Regions from separate parts of the Homo sapiens genome. Here region 2 is linked to region 1. Evidence: promoter capture Hi-C in 16 types of primary human blood cells and fetal thymus (Javierre and others, 2016). All regions are on one chromosome and are shown on one strand. Each heading gives the region's core, a stretch centred on a gene start or on the middle of the fragment in contact. The rest is flanking DNA. Distances are from core to core; before and after follow the strand shown.

The links. The method cuts DNA at HindIII sites, captures the fragments that hold promoters and counts their contacts. A CHiCAGO score of 5 or more calls a contact.
Region 2: a contact is called between a fragment that was not itself captured here and the fragment with the promoter of SMU1 in region 1, in 1 of 17 cell types (M2 macrophages). The highest score is 5.4, in M2 macrophages.

Annotation. Positions count from the first base shown.
Region 1 is chr9:33,074,153-33,078,456 of GRCh38, forward strand. SMU1 (SMU1 DNA replication regulator and spliceosomal factor) reads right to left here and starts at 2,522. Exons shown (of 12, transcript NM_018225.3): 1 at 2,431-2,522. The coding sequence starts at 2,456. RefSeq lists enhancers at 2,384-2,533, 2,704-2,903. The HindIII fragment of the contact is 3,581 bases long and covers 1,479-4,304 here.
Region 2 is chr9:32,562,623-32,566,508 of GRCh38, forward strand. All of the region lies in intron 2 of NDUFB6 (NADH:ubiquinone oxidoreductase subunit B6), which reads right to left. It also overlaps a transcript of SMIM27 not described here and the pseudogene DFFBP1. Among named protein-coding and RNA genes, the nearest start is that of NDUFB6, 8.6 kb to the right of the region's middle. The HindIII fragment of the contact is 1,096 bases long and covers 1,109-2,204 here.

The DNA.
Region 1 (4,304 bases), core at 1,272-3,771:
AGTTATTTATACAAAATAATCTAAATGAGGTTGGGCATGCTGGCTCATGACTGTAATCTCAGTAATTTGGGAGGCTGAGGCAGGAGGATTGGCTGGAAACCAGGAGGTTTGAGACCAGATCAGGCAGCTGTGAGACCCCATCTCTACAAATTTTTTTTTAAATTAGCCAAACATGGTGGCATGTGCCTGTAGTCCCAGCTACTTGGGATGTTGATGTGGGAGGATCCCTTGAGCCCATGAGTTCAAGACCAGCATGGGCAACATAAGAAGACCCCTTCTCTACACACACACACACACAAAAAAAAAAATTAGCTAGGCATGATAGTGTGTGCTTGTGGTCCCAGCTACCTGGGAAGCTGGGGTGGGAGGATTGCTTGTATCCATAAGGTTGAGGCTGCAGTGAGCCGTGATCATGCCACTGCACTCTAGCCTGGGAAAGAGAGCAAGACCTTGTCTCAAAAAAATAAATAAAATAAAACCTATGAGGTAAGTTTACTTTTATCCCCAATTTACAGATGAGGATTTGATCAGATAATAGAGATAATAAGTGGAAAAATCAGGACTCAAACTGGCAGTGTGGCTCTAGAGCATGTATTCCTGAGGAGAAAGCAAACATCCTCTTTTTTTTTTTTTTTTTTGAGAAATGGTCACTTGCATCGCTCAGGCTGGACAGAATAGTGGCGTGATTGTGGCTGACTGCAGCCTGGGCCTCCTGGGATCAGGTGATCCTCTCACCTCAGCCTCCCGAGTAGCTGAGACCACAGGCATGCACCACCACACTGGCTAATTGTTGTATTTTTTGTAGAGACGTGGTTTTGCCATGTTGACCATGCTGGTCTCAAACTTCTGGGCTCAAGTGATCCATCCACCTCAGCTTCCCAAAGTGTTGAGATGACAGGTGTGAGCCACCGCACCTGGCCCCTCTTCTTAAAAACAACTATAGGCCGGCCGCGGTGGCTCACGCCTGTAATCTCACCACTTTGGAAGGCCGAGGCGGGCAGATCACAAGGTCAGGAGATCGAGACCATCCTGGCTAACACGGTGAAACCCCGTCTCTACTAAAAATACAAAAAAATTAGCCGGGCATGGTGGTGGGCGCCTGTAGTCCCAGCTACTCGGGAGGCTGAGGCAGGAGAATGGCGTGAACGTGGGAGGCGGTGCTTGCAGTGAGCGGAGATCGCGCCACTGCATTCCAGCCTGGGTGACAGAGTGAGACTCCGTCTCAAAAAAAAAAAAGGGAACTGATTGCTGCTACCTGCAGTAGTCTTTTTCTCTCATGGCCCCTTTATGAGGTATGCAGGTATCCAGACTTAGACCCCTGTTATTCTGCTATGATACTATCTTCCTTAGCACATGTCCGTTGACTTCCATTTTACACTCCCAAAATAAGTCATCTCTCTCCTCAAACAGCTCACATTTGACATAGCCAAAATCAAATTCCCTACCTTCAAACAGAAATGAATACATAAAGAGCTAGAAGCTTTGAAGATAGTCTGGGATTTGAATCAAAGTTATGTGACCTTGGACAAGTAGGTTAACATCATTTCAGTATTTGCTGAATGCATAAACCTCCCTTCCTCCTATGAAAAGTCTCCAAAAAAGGTCCTCTCCCTCCCTTACACTCAGACACAATTTTTATGTCTGTTAATTTAATTATTATTAAGTGTTGGCAAGGACAGGTGGAGGATGGAGTTCTGGAAAAGCACACTAAGGTCTTCTTTAGTCACTAATTCTCATCCCCTATTCCTTGAAAATTTTTCTTTCTAGCCCAGTCTCCAGTCTGTCTCTCCCCAGACAACCCAAAATTCCGTGCCAGATCGGGCCTGATAGTTGTTCATTCATTCCAAAAGCTAGTTGTTCATTCATTCCAAAAGCAATTAACTCTTCCTCTAAGGTATGCTAGACACTGAGACCACAAGGAAAAGGAGCTCCTAGGCACCGACAAAGGCTAGTTTGGGGTGAGGTTATCAAACAGTGACAATACTGAGTGATAAACGCTAGGCAGAGAAAAGCAAAGGGGCCGTATAAGCAGAGACAACGAATCACATTGCATAAGCTGGACAGGGAGAGAAGCAAGGCTTAAAGAGACCTATCCCCTTGCGCAGATAATTAGACTGGAGTCCAGAGTGGATCCTTAATTTGGTCAATCACAGCGCGCCAGCAGTCGGCCAAGGACAGAACTTAGGTCTGCAAGGTGTGTTTTCCCCACCCGTGCCACCTCCCTCGAGGTTTTGGGCTTCACGTCTGAGAGCTGCTACTTTCCTGTGGGCCCACCTCCGAGGTAGCGAGATCCAAGATGCTTCTTTGGGGGCAAGGAAATGGCCCTCCACTCCCTGGCCTCTCGGATGCCTTCTCCCGAGTACCCTCCGCCCCACACCCTTAACCTCCAGGCCCCCGGCAAGGCGCGAACATCCCCACCGCAGGACTCACTCCGAAGATTCGATTTCGATCGACATAGCCGTATCTCTCCGGGAGCAGGCCCCAGCTCTCCCTCAAGGCCAGTCGCGCAACACACCAACGACACCTCCGGCGGACACCTAACGTCACTTCCGCTTGGGTCGGCGTCTGGCTCCCGCTCTGGAGATAGAGTGAACGAAGAGTAGGGGCGAGGTTCGCGTAGGGGCGGAGCCCTCAGGGGCTGTCAGAGGGCGGAGTTTATGCCCCTGCCCCAGAGAAATACGCATCAGGAGGAAGACTGTTTAAAAGCAGGCCGGAGCCGGGTGCGGTGGCTCACGCTTGTAATCCCAACACTTTGGAAGGCCGAGGCGGGCGATCACCTGAGGTCGTGAGTTCGAGACCAGCCTGACCAACATGGAGAAACCCCCGTCTCTACTAAAAATACAAAATTAGCCGGGCGTAGTGGCGCATGCCTGTAATCCCTACTCGGGAGCCTGAGGCAGGAGAATCGCTTGAACCCAGGAGGCGGAGGTTGCGGTGAGCCGAGATCGCGCCATTGCACCCCAGCATGGAAAACAAGAGCGCAACTCCGTCTCAAAAAAAAAAAAAAAAAAAAAAGAAAGATAGAAAAGAAAAAGAAAAAAAGCACCGGGCGCCATACAGCTCACAAATGTACTGAAAAAGAAAAGCGCTGGGGCGGAGCGCGGTGGCTCGCGCCTGTACTCCCAGCGCGCGAGTTCGAGACCAGCCTGGGCAACATGGTGAAGCCCCGTCTCTACTAAAAATACAAAAAATTAGCCGGGCGTGGTGGCGGGGGCGCCTGTAATCTCAGCTACTCGGGAGTCTGTGGCAGGAGAATCGTTTCACCTCTGGAGGTGGATGCGGTGAGCCGAGATCACACCATTGCACTCCAGCCTGGGCAAGGAGAGCAAAATTCCGTCTCAAAAGAAGAAAAGAAAAGTAGTGGTGATAAGATTGTAGTAAGAAAAGCAAAGAAAAGAAAGAAGAAAAGAAAGAAAAGAAAAGAAAGAAAAGAAAGAGCACTGGTTTGGAAAGATTGCTTTTTTTTTGAGACGGAATCTCGCACTGTCGCCCGGGCTGAAGAGCACAATGGCGCGATCTCGGCTCACTGCAAACTCTGCCTCCCGGGTTCAGGAGATTCTCTTGCCTCAGCCTCCGGAGTAGCTGGGATTACAGGTTTCTTGCCATCACGCCAGGCTAATTTTTTGTATTTTTAGTAGAGATGGGATTTCACTATGTTGGTCAGGCTGTTCTCGAACTCCTGACCTCGTGATCCGCCCGCCTCGGTCTCCCAAAGTGCTGGGATTACAGGCGTGAGTCACTGCGCCCAGCCAATGTTGCTTTCGTTTGATGTAATTAGTTGATTAGATTTAAGATGAGGCTGAATATGCAATACCTGATGGGATATTAATACATTCAAAACCAACATAACACTAGCCAAAATTTATAGGAAGAGTTAATTGAGGATTTTGGTTGGTTGGTTGGTTTTGCGTTTTTTTGAATCAAGGACTCGCTTTGTTGCCCATGCTGGAGTGCAGTGTCTCGATCGTGGCACACTGCAGCCTCGACCCCTCCAGCTCAAGCAATCCTCCCACCTCAGCCACCCAAAGTGCTGGGATTACTGGCATGAGCCACCACGCCCTGTCACGGGACTTTAGGTCAAACACATTATTACATTTGTAGTGACAAATGAAATGTAGAGATATCAGTGAACTTCATACATAAAACCTATTTTTAAATATTTTATTGCTGTTGTATATAAATTGTAAAAATTATTTGCAGCACAGTAATAATAAATCTGGCCAGGCGTGGTGGCTCACGCCTGTAATCTCAGCACTTTGGGAGGCTGAGGCGGGTGGATCACCTGAGTTCAGGAGTTGGAGACC
Region 2 (3,886 bases), core at 407-2,906, 510 kb before region 1:
TAGTAAATTGCTGACTAGTTTATTACTCTAGTATACTTCCTACAAGCAAAGACAATATTCTTAAAATAATTACAATACAACTATCAAGATCAGGAAATTAACACTCATACATTACTATCTCTACCTGATCTAAAAAATCCATTCAAATCTTCTCAATTGTCTCAATAATTGTTTGGACTTATCAGAAAATCCCCTTACATGACATGTTCTCCATTGACTGTGCAGGCTCTTTAAAATTCTGACTGCCAACACCGTCACTGTTCTTACAGATAATGCAATTATGCCTATTAATGAAGAATTGCATTTAGTTGGCATATCTCTTTATTCTTCCTCAATCTGGAACAATCTTAAAGCTGTTCTTTAACATTCATGATCTTGACATTTCTGAAGGTATAATGCCAATAATGAGGGAGAACAGCCCCTCAGTTTGGGTTTATCTTCTGTTTCCTCATATGAATTTAATCAATAAATTACATTCAAGTTATGCACCTTTGGCAGGAATATCACAAAAGTAATGCTGTGTTCTTATTGCAGCCTATCAAGTAACATAATTTCAGTTTGCCCCATTATCAATAATGTTAATTTAGACCCCTTGACTAAGGTGGCGTCTGCCAGATTTCTCTACTACAAAGATACTCTTTCTCTCTTTGTAACAAATTAAATATTTTGAGGATAAGTATTTTAAAATTAGTATTAGCATCCTCTTTTTTTTTTAATTTTCTTTTTTTGATTCAGATGGGAGTCTCACTATGTCACCCAGGATGGCTGGAGTACAGTGGGCAGCACAATCATAGCTCATTGCAGGCTCCACATCCTGGGCTCAAGCGATCCTCCTGCTTCAGCCTCCTGAACAGGTGGGACTATTGGGCTTTTTTTTTTTTTGGAGGGATGGGGTCTCATTATGTTGCCCAGGTTGATCTCAAACTCTTGGCCTCAAGCAGTCCTCCCACCTCAGCCTCCCAAAGTGTTGGGATTACAGGTGTGAGCCACTGTGCCCAGACTAATGTTAGCATCCTTTGATGTTCCTTAGCTGAATTAAATATTACTATGATGATTCTCAAATGGTAATTTTTCTAATTCTATCATTCAGCAAATTATTGCATCAAAAAGCTTTCTTTTCTACCCATTTATTAATTCACTTATTTATATCAGTTTGCACTCATGGATTTTCATTTTATTCAGGTGACTATCATCTATTACTATCATTATTTACTTTGAAGTTCAAACTGCCCAGGCAGGAGTCCTTGCAAGCTGACTCTGTGTCCTTTGAAATATGTTCCCATCATTCTTTCAGCACTTCTTTACTTTCTGGCACAATAATATGTTCCAAGCTCATCTTATACTTTCTCTCCTCCCGCCCTAGAATTGGCCACTGCTCTGAGCTCTGGGTCCTTTCAGTGCATAACTGTATTTAGAAAATAAGACCTAGCTTCTAAGTGTGCTAATTACTAAGGAGTGGCAATGTTTCCAGGTCCTCTCAGTGGACATAGCTAGAGAATATGTACACACAAACACGCATGCACACATCCACATTTACATCTATATCTATTTCTAGGTCTATCAATACATTTTAAAAACCATGAGTTCACACCAGTACCTCCAATTCCATTCTACCACCACAAACTTTTCTTCCTTTTCACATAGGTAACTCCCTTTTCCGGCAGTGAGAATCCTGTGTCCCTTTATCATCAACATATGTACTCACAGGCATACCTTACTTTATTGCACTTTGCTTTACTGCACTTCACATATATTGTGTTTTCTTATAAATAGAAGGTTTTAGCAACCCCGAGACAAGCAACTCTATCAGTGCCATTTTTCTTTTTTCTGAAAAATCTTTATTGCTTCTGCTGATTACACAACAAATGTAAAAATTCAAATATTACACTTTTTTAAAAAAAAGTACATTATAACATGTCATTAAATAAATGCCCATTTCAAAAAAATTCAAGTATCATAAAATACATGATTTAGAAAATGAGTCCTCTGTAATCCAGTCCCACCCCCATGTCCCCCAGGATTACTGCTGTTCAGATCAGCGTTTCCTTCCAGATTGTCTCTGCGCACTCACCACCTGCACTGCTGACATGAGCTCCATATTATCTGAGATGATAGTAACTCTGATAAATGGAGCAGGAGCAGGGTTCAGCTGCCAGTGCACTGAACAGCTTCCAGTTTCTACACAGAAACACTTTCTTCATAAAAGCTTGAAACTACAACATCCTTTTGCACTATGTAAATGTATCAAGTTGAATCATGAAATTAACGATCGCTCACCATTTTTGGCCTAGAAAAACGGCAGTTTCATGTGGTTCGACATAATAGCTATGGCCCTATTCATAGACATTGGGAGGTTTCCTACTTTTTGCCATTATAAACAATTCAGCAGGCCAGGTGCGGTGGCTCACGCTTGTAATCCCAGCACTTTGGGTGGCCAAAGCAGGCAGATCACTTGAGGTCAGGAGTTCAAGACCAGCCTGGCCAACATGGCAAAACCTCATCTCTGCTAAAAATACAAAAATTAGTCAGCCATGGTGGCGGACACCTGTAATCCCAGCTACTTGGTAGGCTGAGGCAGGAGAATCACTTGAACCCAGGAGGCAGAGGTCGCAGTGAGCCGAGATCGCGCCACTGCACTCCAGCCAGGAGACACAGTGAGACCCTGTCTCAAAAAAAAAAAAGAAAAAAATTCAGCAGTGAATGTCCTTTTATGTTCTTTATGGAGTACAAACATCTTACCCCCAAAGCATGACACCTCTCTTTTGGGCATTTAGAACAGTCAAGAAGGATGGAGCTGCCCATTTGCCATGGAAATGGAGAGCCAGCAGACAGCTGATGCATAAACAACTTGTCCCTCAAACAAGAGTGGCTAACTTCAGCCATGACACCGTTTTAGTATGGTGACCACACCACATGAGCAAACCAAATACTGGTAAAACCAGAGAACAGAAGAATTCCTCAGCTCAGGACAATTCTTATCCCTACTGACGACTCACAAGACATCCAGTGAGTACCCCAAAGTTGTCCTCTGGAAGTTGGGCTGTCAGAAGGTACAAAAAATGATTCAGGCCAGGCACGGAGGCCCACGCCTGTAATCCCAGCACTTTGGTAGGCCGAGGCAGGTGGATCACCTGAGGTCAGGAGTTCGAGACCAGGCCGACCAACATGGCGAAACCCTGTCTCTACTAAAAATACAAAAATTAGCCAGGCATGGTGGCACATACCTGTAATCCTAGCTACTTGGGAGGTTGAGGCAGGAGAATCACTTGAACCCGGGAGGCGGAGGTTGCAGTGAGCCAGGATCACACTACTACACTCCAGCCTGGGCAACGAAAGTGAAACTCCACCTACAAAAAACAAACAAACAAACAATGATTCAGAAATGTACTGAAATCAGATTTGCCGGAAATATTTTTTAAGGTTTTTTCCAGGAGCTACTGGAGTGACCAAAAAAAAAAAAAGGCACCTGTTAAAATTATGCCCACGACAGGCCTCGAACAAAGACGAGAATATGGTGTGTATATGTCACTGGCGCTTTCACACAGGCCACTTCCTCTTCAACCTTGTCTGGGGTTTGTAGATTCTGTTCAGGTCATAGCTGGTTTTGTGGGTGGTTTTCTTATGGCAGACAACACTAATTTTAGGTTCTCTGAGGTAGAAAGCAGGCCATAAAAATATTCCCAGTCCACTTCTCTTCCATCTTGTTCTTTAACTGCTTCCACCAGTGTAGGAATGATGGTGCGTTTTTGTTTCCACTATGTGATCCAGGTTCCAGGTCCAGAAGAGGAGCCTGCTCTCCCTGTTACTGTAGGGGTTGATGGAGTATCTTGACAAGCAGCCGTCCATGTCGAAGGGACCCTGGCAGGAGAACTAGCCTTCCGGTGTG